4 separate regions of the Homo sapiens genome follow, and regions 2, 3 and 4 are each linked to region 1. The links are contacts of gene promoters, found by promoter capture Hi-C in human tissues and cell types (Jung and others, 2019). All regions are on one chromosome and are shown on one strand. The core of a region is centred on a gene start or on the middle of the fragment in contact, and the rest is flanking DNA. Distances in the headings are between cores, read along the strand shown.

Evidence for each region. Contacts are between HindIII fragments. The study calls those that stand out against the background at their distance.
Region 2: a fragment that was not itself captured here is called in contact with the fragment with the promoter of SGK3 in region 1 in 2 of the 25 tissues and cell types used here (bladder and thymus).
Region 3: a fragment that was not itself captured here is called in contact with the fragment with the promoter of SGK3 in region 1 in 1 of the 25 tissues and cell types used here (dorsolateral prefrontal cortex).
Region 4: a contact is called between a fragment that was not itself captured here and the fragment with the promoter of SGK3 in region 1, in 1 of the 25 tissues and cell types used here (dorsolateral prefrontal cortex).

The regions. Positions count from the first base shown.
Region 1 is chr8:66,711,349-66,714,282 of GRCh38, forward strand. SGK3 (serum/glucocorticoid regulated kinase family member 3) reads left to right here and starts at 1,433. Exons shown (of 17, transcript NM_001033578.3): 1 at 1,433-1,485. All of the region lies in intron 3 of C8orf44-SGK3 (C8orf44-SGK3 readthrough), which reads left to right. RefSeq lists a silencer at 1,142-1,611. The HindIII fragment of the contact is 13,282 bases long and covers 1-2,934 here.
Region 2 is chr8:67,121,400-67,124,333 of GRCh38, forward strand. The region is part of intron 15 of CSPP1 (centrosome and spindle pole associated protein 1); the gene reads left to right. Among named protein-coding and RNA genes, the nearest start is that of CSPP1, 58 kb to the left of the region's middle. The HindIII fragment of the contact is 4,479 bases long and covers 1-2,934 here.
Region 3 is chr8:67,075,805-67,078,738 of GRCh38, forward strand. It overlaps CSPP1 (centrosome and spindle pole associated protein 1), which reads left to right. Exons shown (of 31, transcript NM_001382391.1): 3 at 678-777. Among named protein-coding and RNA genes, the nearest start is that of CSPP1, 13 kb to the left of the region's middle. The HindIII fragment of the contact is 3,037 bases long and covers 1-2,886 here.
Region 4 is chr8:67,046,923-67,049,856 of GRCh38, forward strand. All of the region lies in intron 6 of COPS5 (COP9 signalosome subunit 5), which reads right to left. Among named protein-coding and RNA genes, the nearest start is that of COPS5, 14 kb to the right of the region's middle. The HindIII fragment of the contact is 4,996 bases long and covers 1-2,934 here.

The DNA of each region.
Region 1 (2,934 bases), core at 183-2,682:
GATTTTGTTACAAGGGAAGAACTCCTCTAATGTATGTGGATTGCTTTGTGGACCACAGTAAAACATATAAAGGACCACCGGCAATGTATTGTTTTGTATCTACTGCATTCTTATATTCATTTCTGAAAACTACTGTTTAGAAAGTTCTGTAGGATTACTGAAGTACAAAAAGTATTTGGATTCACAATCCACTTTTTAAAGAGAGGCCACATTGTGGTTATTGACATTAAAAATGAATGTCCTAACCCATACTTGTGGGGCTAAATCTTTGAATATCATTTTAAAACATGAGGAAATGTCTTCTGAATTTAGGGAAGTCACACATAGATCCCAGTTCCTCTAATAACCTTTGGCAGTTTATTTGTTCATAGATTTGTGGCAAATTCTCTGGAATCATATGATCTAAAGTACAAATCATTGTCTCAAAATCTAAGGCATGATATGCACATGGGAATCTTTAAGTACTTGTCTGAGTCTATCTTCAAGTGATATCTGATAAGACCTAAATTACAGTAGTGTTGTGGGACGAAGAAAACAACCCACTCTACTTCAAAATCTTAACCACTTGACTCCACATCCATTGAACCATGTAATTCTTAGTTCTCCACTCAGCTTCTCTATCTGTTAAAAGAGATAAACAGATCTAAAACGCAGCTTCTGTAATTCAAGAATGAGTAATAAGGAGCTGTAAAGTGTGCACTCAGCTGACTTGGAGATTAATGGGAATAAAAAAAAGAGTCAGTAGATCTAAAAAGATGTGTGGAAAGGAAATTTCTCTGCACACAGGATCTGCCAATTTGTGAAAGTTCTCGACTGTTTATAAACACAAGGGCCGTAACTCTGCTAATGACAAAAGTGGAAAACTGTCCAAATAATGCTAAATGAATCACAGTTGTTCTCAATTATTTGGATATTTAATTCACTCCTCTGAGTTTCCAGTTTACACCAAGCCAACCCCCCCAACACCACGGGCCCACCCGGGGGGTCCTGATCCCTGCACACACCAGGTCATCTCTGTTGGGCCCCGGCGCTCTGGCCCGCGCCGGTCTTGGGCCCCAGGGTAGCGGCCACTGCGGGCGGAGCAGAGGGAAACACCAGAGTCTGTGACTCCAGACAGGACCCACTGTGTCCTCTTGAACTTTGCACAGCGCGTGACGGGGGCAGACGGTGCACCGTGGCCCGGCCTTTCGCGGGGGTCCTCGGGGAAGAGAGAGGAGCGCGGGTTTCCTCGGAGGCCTGAGCGGGACGCAGCCTGCAGCCCCTCCCCGCACGGGCTGCCCCCGGCCCGCCGCTCGCGCCGCTCTGCTGGGATCCGGCGCCTTCCCCGGCTGTCCTCGGCCTCCCGCGCGCTCCGCGGGAGGAGCCGCCAGCGGCCGTGACGCGTCAAGGAGGAAACGCCGGCGCCCGGCGGCCCTGCCGGGAAGGAGGAAGCGCAGTGCGTTCGGCTCCGCGCCCGCCGCGCCGGGAGCAGCACCGCGGGGCCAGGTAGGTGCGGGGCCGGCGGGAGGGTCCGCGCGCCCGGGACTCCGACGGCGGCCCGGGGCGGGAGGAGACGGGGCGGGGCGAGGGCTGCCCGGGCCTCGGCCGCTGCCTGTCCTCGGAAAAAGCCGTACCTCCGCCCAGCCCCCGGCTCCCGGAGAGTTTGTGGTCTTTGTTTCCACGAGGTGAATTCAGATCCTGCCTCGAGATTCCTAAACGCCCAAGGGGCGTCGGTGGCTGGACCTTGTTAACCCCCACGCAGCCGCCGAGCCTGGAGGAACTGGGAACGCCGAGCAGGGAGACCCTATCTGAGGTCGAAAGTGGGTGCAGGTCACCTGCGAGGGTCGGGGAGGGGGCAGCCGCCAGAGTGGGGTGGATGGAATCGTTTAACCTGTTGTCAGCGGATCTGTAGTAAAAGACCTTAATACGTTGCGTCTTTTAAGTTCTCTGTAATTTGAACCCTTACGTCTCTTCAAGTGAATCTGGCCCTATTAATTCTCACAGTTTTAGCTTTGGAATGTACCCACAAGAAGTGCTTTGAGATTTTTAGATTCTGTCATTTTTAGTCATCGTTACTTGGAAAGAGAAAAGAGAAAGGAATCATCTCTTGAAACTTAAAACGCTTTCATTGAGTTGTGCACAGTGACTTCTGAACCATGAGTAGAATTTCAGTCCTGCACCAGAGACTACTTAGTGTGCACTTGGGTGCAAAATAAATACAGAGCACTGTAATTTCTAAATCTTTTGTCAAAGTGAAAAATAGACTGTTGTGTATTTTGATTCTCTCCCTTCTCACCAGATTGAGACTTCACCCAGCCAATCTGGGAGGTGCCTTTTTTTATTTACCAAACACTTACATAGCCCTTACTATGCGCTGGGCTCTTTCTAAGTTCTTTATAAATATTAAATCAAATTCTTAACTTATCATATTATAGCGGTTCTAGCAATGAAGAGGCTATCCATACTTTAGTTCCCCAAATGTCATTGGAAGAGCTGTAAACATTAGAGGAAGTTTTAGGCATGTTTTAGCACCGGGTGTGCCTTCTGGTCCCCTTGGCTACCACTTCTGTAAGACAAGCCACCACCCCAGCATTTCCCTGGGGTAAGGGAGCCTGGAGCTCCTGGGAATGCGACCTGTTCAAAGCAGATGTTGGCCAGAACCTGAATGACTTGTGTAACATGGTCTCTTTCAACTGCCGTTGTGCCCATCGGCTAACTCTGGAGACACCAGAACTTCCCCTTCTTTAACTGCCACTGCATGGAGCCTACTTTTGTTTTTGAAAAGAGCTTTGTTCCTGATCTGTTCGACACTGTTTATATGACATTATTTATATGACATAGTTTAGATATGAGGGTCAGATTGAACTTGAAATGTACTATAAAATAGAACATTTTTGTTTGCACACATCAACATAACAAATAACGTTTTGTAATTTTACTGCTATTTGCTCTTGG
Region 2 (2,934 bases), core at 207-2,706, 410 kb after region 1:
TCAAATGCTTTTTCTGTATTGTGATGATCATGTTTTTTTCCCCTTTATTCTTTTAATGTGGTATATTGATTGATTTTTTTATGTTTAACCATAACCATCCTTGTTTTCCAGGAATAAATTCCACTTAGTCATGGTGTATAATCATTTTAATATGCTGCTGGATTTGGTTTGCTAGTATTTTGTTAAGGAGTTTTGCATCAGTGTTCATATGTGATCTTGTTGTAGTTTCCTTATACTGTCTAGCTTTGGTATAAGCATAATGTTGGGCTTATAGAAGGAATTAGGAAGTGTTCCCTCCTCTTGAACTTTTTGAAAAAGTTTGAGGATTTATATTAGTTCTTCTTTAAATGTTTGATAGAATTCACCAGTGAAACCATAAGGTACAGGGCTTTTCTTTGTTGGGTGATTATTGATTAGAGATTCAGTCTCTTTAGTAACTAGTTATATAGGTCTATTCAGATTTTCTTTTTCTTCATGATTTAGTCTTGATAGGTTTTTATTTCTAGGAATTTGTCCATCTCATCTAGGTTATCCGATTTGTTGGCATATAATTGTTGATAATATTCCCTTACAGTCCTTTCTTATTTTTAAAAGATTAATAGTGATGCCCCTTTGTGAATTTCTGATTATATTTTATTATTTATTTATTTATTTATTTTTCTGACCTCATTCTTCCCATCACAGAATTCCTGATTTTAATAGAAGATTCAGAGCCTTCTTGTTGGTCAGTGTAGCTAAGCATTTGTCAATCTTGTTGATCTTTTCAAATAACAAACTATTGGTTTGGTTGATTTTTTTTTTTTCTGTCGTTATTCTAGTTTCCATTTCATTGATTTCTGCTGTAATCTTTTAAATTTCCTCCCTTCTGCTTACTTTGGGTTCCGTTTGCTCTCATTTTTCTGGTTTCTAGAGATGAAAATCTAGATTATTGATTTGGTATCTTTCCCTTTGTTTGGTATGTATACTTACAACTATAAGCTTTCCTCTTAGTACTGTTTTAGCTACATCCCTTAAGTTTTGGTATGTTGTCTTTTCACTTTCATTGCTCTCAAAATATTTTCCAATTTTTAAAAATTTCTTCATCAACCTGTTGGTTATTTTGAAATGTGTTGTTTACTTTCCACATAATTGTGAATTTCCCAAATATCCTTCTGTTACTCATGTCTAATATAATTACATTGCAGTAGGAGAACAAACTTTGTATGATTTCAGTCAGTCCTTTTTAATTTATTGAGGCTTATTTTAAGACCTAACATGGTCTGTCCTAGAGAATGTTCCACATGCATTTGAGAAGAATGTGTATTGTCCTGTTGGTGAGTGTATTATTCTATAAGTGTCTCTTAGATCTAGTTGGCTTATAGTGTTATTTCTTTTATTTCCTTGATCTTCTGTGTAGTTGTTCTATTATTAGAAGTGAAGTATTTAATCTCCAACTGTTACTTTGTGTGTGTGTGTTCTGATATACAGTCTTGCTCTGTGTGTGTGTGTGTGTGTGTTTGTGTGTGTGTGTGTTCTGATATACAGTCTTGCTCTGTCACCCAAGCTGGAATACAGTTGTGAGACCATAGTTTGCTGTAGCCTCAACCTCCTGGGCTCAAGCAATCCTCCTACCCCAGCCTCCTGAGCAGCTAGGACTACAGCCGTGTGCCACTGCACCTGACTGATTTGTTTATTTTTTGTGGAAACAGGGTCTCCCTGTGTTGCCCAGTGTGATCTTGAACTCCTGGCCTCAAGCGATCCTCTTGCCTCAGCCTCCCAAAGTACGAGGAATATAGCCATGAGCCACCACACCCGGACTCCAACTATTATTCTTGACTTGTGTATTATTCTCTTCAATTCTGTCAGTTTTTGTTTCGTTTCTTAGGTCTCTCTTTATATGCATATGTTTATAATTGTGTCTTACTGAAGATTTGACCCTTTTATTAGTGTCAGAGATTCTTCTGTGTCTCTGCTAACAATTTTTGTCATAAAGTGCTTTTAGTTCTAATATAAATGTTGCTGTTCTGGTTCTCTTTTAGTACTGTTTGCATGGTGTATGATTTTTCGTATTTACTCTCAATTTATTTGTCTTTGAATCTAAAAGATGTCTCTATGTAGACAGAATGCAGTTACTTCCTGGTTTTTATGTTTGCCATTTTGCAATTTTTTTCTATATGTCTTATGTCTTTTTATTCCTCTAATCCTCCTTTATTACCTTCTTTTTCTTCTTCGTTTTTTTTTTTTTTTAAGAGATAGGGTCTCATTCTCTTTCCCAAGCTGGAGTGCAGTGGTGTGATCACAGAGCTCACTGCAGCCTCAAACTCCTGGGCTCAAGCAATCCTTCCACTCCAATCTCTCAAGGAGCTGGAACTACAGGCACATGCCACCACGCCTGGCTAAATATTTGTATTTTTTGTAGAGATAGGGTTTTGCCATGTTTCCCAGGCTGGTCTCAAACTTCTGGCTCAAGTGATCCCAGCCCCACAAAGTGCTGGGATTACGGGCATGAGCCACCGCGGCCAGGCTCTTTTTTTTTTTTTTAAGACGCAGTCTCGCTGTTGCCCAGGCTGGAGTGCAGTGGTGCGATCTCGGCTCATTGCAAGCCCCACCTTCTGGGTTCATGTCATTCTCCTGCCTCAGCCTCCCGAGTAGCTGGGACTACAGGCGCCCGCCACCACGCCTGGCTAATTTTTTGTATTTTTAGTAGAGACGGGGTTTCACCGCGTTAGCCAGGATGGTCTCGATCTCCTGACCTCATGATCCACCCGCCTTGGCCTCCCAAAGTGCTGGGATTACAGGCATGAGCCACCGCACCCGGCCTATTAGTTTCTTTTATGTTAAATATTTAATAGCATTCAATTTTGATTTTTTTGTTGCCTTTTGCATAATTTTGAGTTTTTTTGTGGTTTCCCTACAGATTAAAATTGATATCTTAATTTAAAATAAATGAGTTTA
Region 3 (2,934 bases), core at 118-2,617, 360 kb after region 1:
CACAGGAGTTAAGTAATTTGTCCAGGTCCACACAGTGGTGGATTCAGGAGTGGAACCTTTATGCAGCTCCAGAGTCTATCTCTTAACCACTCTCCAGTAGTTAGGACCAGCTTACGGCTTTGGAGTTACATGATTTGGAGTACATAGCTTTAAAGACAGTTTTGTTATAATTTCTAACATTAATTTGTACATAAATAATTTTAAGTCTTAGTTCAAGTATCACCTGCTCAGTGAGGCCTTATAGTCCCCCAGCATTTCTGGGCCTCCTTACTTTAATCTGCTTTTTTTTTTTTCCATAACCACTTCCTGCCACTATCTACATATCACATAATCTAATCATGTGTTGAGTTCATTATGTGTCCCCCCAATAGTTTATAAGCTTCATGATGGCAGAAATTCTTCTATTTTTTAAAACTCTTATACTTTCAATGCTTGACAAAATGTTTGGCACTTAATGGGAACTCAGTAAATATTTGTTGGTAAGTGAATGAGTTAAATATTAGAATATCTATTATAAAATTAAAATACCTTTGGCTAATTCCTCAAACCTTACACTTAATTTCTTCTATGATGTACTGTGTAATTTCATCAAGCTGTTTAATTAAAATTTGAGATGAGTTGTATATTTCATGGTTTTTTTTTTCCTCTTGCTTTTGTAAACATTATGTCTCTTTCAGGGAAAGTTGTCAGCGAAGCTTTCTGAAAACAGTAAGATACTGATCTCTATGGCTAAGGAAAACATACCACCAAATAGTCAACAGACCAGGGGTTCCTTAGGTATGTCATTAGATGTGCTAAACTTATTTTAAGATATCCTTAGTGGGCTCTTCTGAAAGAGGTTTGTCTTGTCAGAAAAAAAGATTTATTTGGAATCCTAGTAGTTTTTCTTTCTGGAATCTTACGTAAGTCAATATGGTCTACATATGAAATAGAACTCATACTGAAAACTTTGTACTTGTTTTATGTGATACTGCATTGGTTATGATTTATGGAACTTATAGAAGAAGGTGTGTATAACATAACTTAAAAATTGAAAACTTTGAAAGGAATTTGTGTGTGTGAGAGAGAGAGAGAAGAGAAACTTTTATTTGTTGATTGAAAATGGTGAACTTGCTTATTTAAAAATTAAAGAAATATGCTTAAAGGGTACAAAATGCTGTTTGGTGAAAGACTATTTTAATTATTGATGATCATGTTGGAATTGTAAAGAAGTTAATACTGTAGCCATACTAATGCTTTGATTATGGTATGGTATGAAAATATTTGGAAACTTTTTACCACATTTTGGCTTGTTGGTAGGTATACATTTTAAAAAAAGAAAATGTATGAATATGTAAAAATTTTTGTTTATTTATTAAAGACAGGGTCTCTCTCTCTCTCTCTCTGTCACTCAGGCTGGAGTGCAGTGGCATGATCATAGTTCAGTGTTATCTTGAACTCCTGGGTTCAAGCAATCCTCCTGCCTTGGCCTCCCAAAGTACTACAATTACAGGCCTGAGCCACCATGCCCAGTCTGTATGAATATATATAATTTTTTTTTTTTTTCTTCAAGGCTGAGTCTGACCCTGTCGCCCAGGCTGGAGTGCAGTGGCACGATCTCGGCTCACTGCCGCCTCCACCTCCCAGGTTCAGGCGATTCTCCTGTCTCAGTCTCTCAAGTAGCTGGGATTACAGGCGCATGCCACCACACTCAGCTAATTGTTTATATTTTTGGTAGAGACAGGGTTTCGCAGTGTTGGCCAGGCTGGTCTCGAACTCCTGACCTCAGGTGATCTGCCTGCCCGCCTCGGCCTCCCAAAGCTGGGGTTACAGGCGTGAGCCACTGTGCCCGACCTGTATGAATATTTTCAATGTGCATTTTGTGATTTATTGATGATGACAAACTTTTTCACAAAAAGAAAATCAACTATGATAAGTTCATTTGATTAAAGCATTGTTCTCAAATGGACAGCTTTTCATGGATGTAGGTATACTCCTAAATTGTTTTTGTGTGCCAGTGGATACAAGGGGATGCCGGCCAAGAAACTGGATAGTCAGTAAGCTTTGTCTCTGCATTAGACAAATAGCTCAAAGTGAGTGCCCTACTTTTAATATCAGATAGATAACTCTTTCCATTTTGAATCTCTTATAAATTATTAATATACAGCATTAGTGAACTAAAGTATTATATATTGGTAAAATTTTTTAATCTCTAAGGCTCTCAATTTTTTTTCTGTGAAATAAGTTTGATTATCTTCCAGCCCTACGTTTTTATGAATCTAAATTTTAATTATTCCAAGAGATAATTTTTAAAAAGTTTAATAGTAGGTTATCTCAAGCACTAAGGTCGCTAAGGTTAGACAGAATCCCTTTTAAATTCTAGGGTTACAGCTTGCTTTGGATTGGGCTGTGATGCCTTTATGACCTGTCAGGAGCTACACTTTGTTTCCTTATCTTATGACATCTATCTCAAAAAGTCGTTATGGGCGAAAGTTAAATACGTGAAAAGATGGCTGGCACGTAATTGGTACACAATAAATATTAATTTCTTTTTCTCCTTAACATCTTTTTTTTTTGAGACAGGATCTTACTTTGTCGCCCAGGCTGGAGTGCAGTGGCATAATCTTGGCTCACTGCAACCTCCACTGTCCAGGCTTAAGTGATTCATCCTCCCTCCTCAGCCTCCAAGTAGCTGAGACCACAGGTGAGCACCACCATGCTGGCTAACTTTTTTTTATATACATATATTTTCTGTAGAGGTGGTGTTTCGCTATGTTGCCCAGGCTGGTCTGGTCTCGAACTCGCTAGCTCAAGCCATCCGCCTGCCTCGGCCTCCCAAAGTTCTGGGATTACAGGTGTGAGCCACTTGTGCCTGGCCTTCCATCTTTTTAAAAGTAGTTTTTCGGGCTGGGCGTGGTGGCTCACACCTGTAATCCCAACACTTTGGGAGGCTGA
Region 4 (2,934 bases), core at 153-2,652, 340 kb after region 1:
AACAAACACATCTATAATCTCTTCACTTAGCTATAACTGCAACTAAAGAGCATTGCTATATGCTCACATGTATATCTACATTTGAGAAACTATAATATTACATATTTTACCAATATTTTTATGGGGTATCACTTTTTAATTGCAGTCTAAAACACAAAAAAAATTTCACAAAGTTATTAAGTATACATTATATTTCTTTCCTAGATCTTCAATAGAAGAGTATGAAGAGGAAATAAACTAGTTGGCAAAAAGTAGTATGTCGTTCTATTTGCTCAGTTTGCAAGGAAAGACAGTCAGTCACCAAACAAGAAAAGTTATTTGCTGCCATCACAGCTTACTATAGGGGGCTCTTTAAAATGCTACCAGTTCTTCCAATGATTTTTACAAACTTAATATTTTTTAAAAGATGCAATTATATTCATTTGGTCTGGATCTAAATGGTTTAGGAAGCCAATGTATTTTCCTCCCACAGACTTGGAAAAAACCCTAAAGTTTATAGAGCTATTTAAGCCATAAAAATATAGGCTACCAGAAATAGTTATACTATTAAAATGACAATAAAAGATATCCAATTACATTTCAAATGTGCAGAAAATGAATATACTAAACTAATTTCTTAAATTTGAAAATAACTTAGGTTACATGCTATAATTAACGTCCTTAGCTGGGGGAAGAGAGAAGTTGAACATATATCTACATATTTGTTCTTAAAATGCTGCAATGTACTATACATAAAACAACAAGGGAGAAATGTAATTTAACCTTTTCTTGATTATTAATGTCCTCATGTATGCAGTGCTGGAATACAGGGACAGACATTGGGCTGAGTAGGTAGATCTGCTTGCCTCATACAAAGGTTCAGACTGTTCTGGTCTTAACAGTGTTTTCTCCCCTTGCCATCAGGTGTCACTTCTGGCTGCTATTAATATACTTGCCTCTAAGGAAACAACACATATAAAACACTTAGCAGTTTCTGGCACATAGGAAGCATGTAACACATATTTGCTATTATGATCATTCTCCATCCTAATTTGCTACTTCTGACTACTAAGGATAAGAAATAAGAACAGATACTGGGCGCCGTGGCTCATGCCTGTAATCCCAGCACTTTGGGAGGCCAAGGTGGGCAGAAGGCTTGTGCCCAGAAGCTCCAGACCAGCCTGGACAACATGGCAAAACCCTGTCTCTATGAAAAAATATAAAAAATTAGTCAGGCATGGTGGTGTACATCCTGTAGTCAGGAGGCCGAGGTGGGAAAATCACCTGAGTCCAGGAGGTCCAGGCTATAGTGAGATGTGATTGCACCACTGCACTTCAGCCTGGGCAACAGAGTGAGACCCTGTCTCAAAATAAAATAAAATAATAAAATAAATAAAGTAAAATAAAATAATAAAATAAAATATAAAATAAAATAAAAGGAAAAAAGGAAAAAAAGAACAGAAAGCTTGTCAGAGTTGTATTTAAAATAACAGTAAATACACTGCTTCACTTGACTAGCCTAAAAAAAATTCCAGCCGGGCGCGGTGGCTCACGCCTGTAATCCCAGCACTTTGGGAGGCTGAGGCGGGTGGATCACGAGGTCAGGAGTTCAAGACCAGCCTGGCCAAGATGGTGAAACCCCATCTCTACTAAAAATACAAAAAATTAGCCGGGCGTGGTGGCACGCACCTGTAATCCCAGCTACTCCGGAGGCTGAGGCAGATAACTGCTTAAACCTGGAGGGGTGGAGGTTGCAGTGAGCTGAGATTGCACCACTGCACTCCAGCCGGGGTGACAGAGTGAGACTCCATCTCAAAAAAAAAAAAAAAAAAAATTCCAGTAAATAATAGGCTTAAGTGAGGTCTTTTCCCATGAATATAATGCACCAAATTAAAAAAAATCATTAATTGAGGCTTTATTATATGCCAGACACTTTGCTAATTGCTTTATATAAAGTAGCCCATTTAATTTTCTCAGAGTACTTAATGATGTATGTAGCATATCAACATTTTACAACAAAGAAATGCTTAGTCACATTAAATAACTTTCTGAAAGTCATTCAGAACTAGTAAAGTGGCAGAGTTGTTTTCAAAGTCAGTTTTATTTTTTAGTATAGATATCATTTGTTTATTATAGAAGAGACATGGCAATTATTTACATAATTAAATATTTCAGAACTTAAGTGCAATGAGCAGCTTCATGTTGATGGCATTTCAATAGTGATTTACTTCAGTCTACATACTTTCTAAGAATGTCAGCATCTCTAAATAAGAAATAATCTGGCTGGGCATGGTGGCTCACGGCCTGTAATGGCACTTTGGGAGGCCAAGGCGGGCAGATTGCTCAAACCCAGGAGTTCAACGCCAGCTTGGGCAACGTGGCAAAACCCTGTCTCCACAAAAAGATACAAAAATTAGCCAGGTGTGGTGGCTCACCCTTGTAGTCCCAGCTACTTGGGAGGCTGAGGCAGAAGGATCGCTCAAGCCTGGGAAGTTGAGGCTGCAGTGAGCTGAGATCGTGCCACCACAATACCCTGGACAACAGAGACAGAGACCCTGTCTCGAAAAGAAAAAGAAAAAAAAAAAATCCTTGGCCTTCCAGGTCAACTGAATAAACCTGAAGAGTTGCAAAGTAGTTCTTTACTTTTGTGCCTCCATATTCTGGGAGAATAATTCTTTATCTCTAACTTTCACATTAACTGGTTGAATCCACCTTTTCCTTGAAAGCTCAATCCAACAACTACTGTTGCTTGCAATGCTTTACCTTGAGATTTTTCTGGAAGCGTAATGCCTCCTTTGGTTACAGTTTCAGCTGTACTCCTTTCAACCAATACTCCATCAAAGAGCATAAGAAACTTCTAAGTGCCGGTCCTGCTATGACTCCTGCTGCTGTAGCTCATATTCTCCAAACCCAGTTTATTTAATTCTAAATCCTGTGGTTCTAACCACTATATAT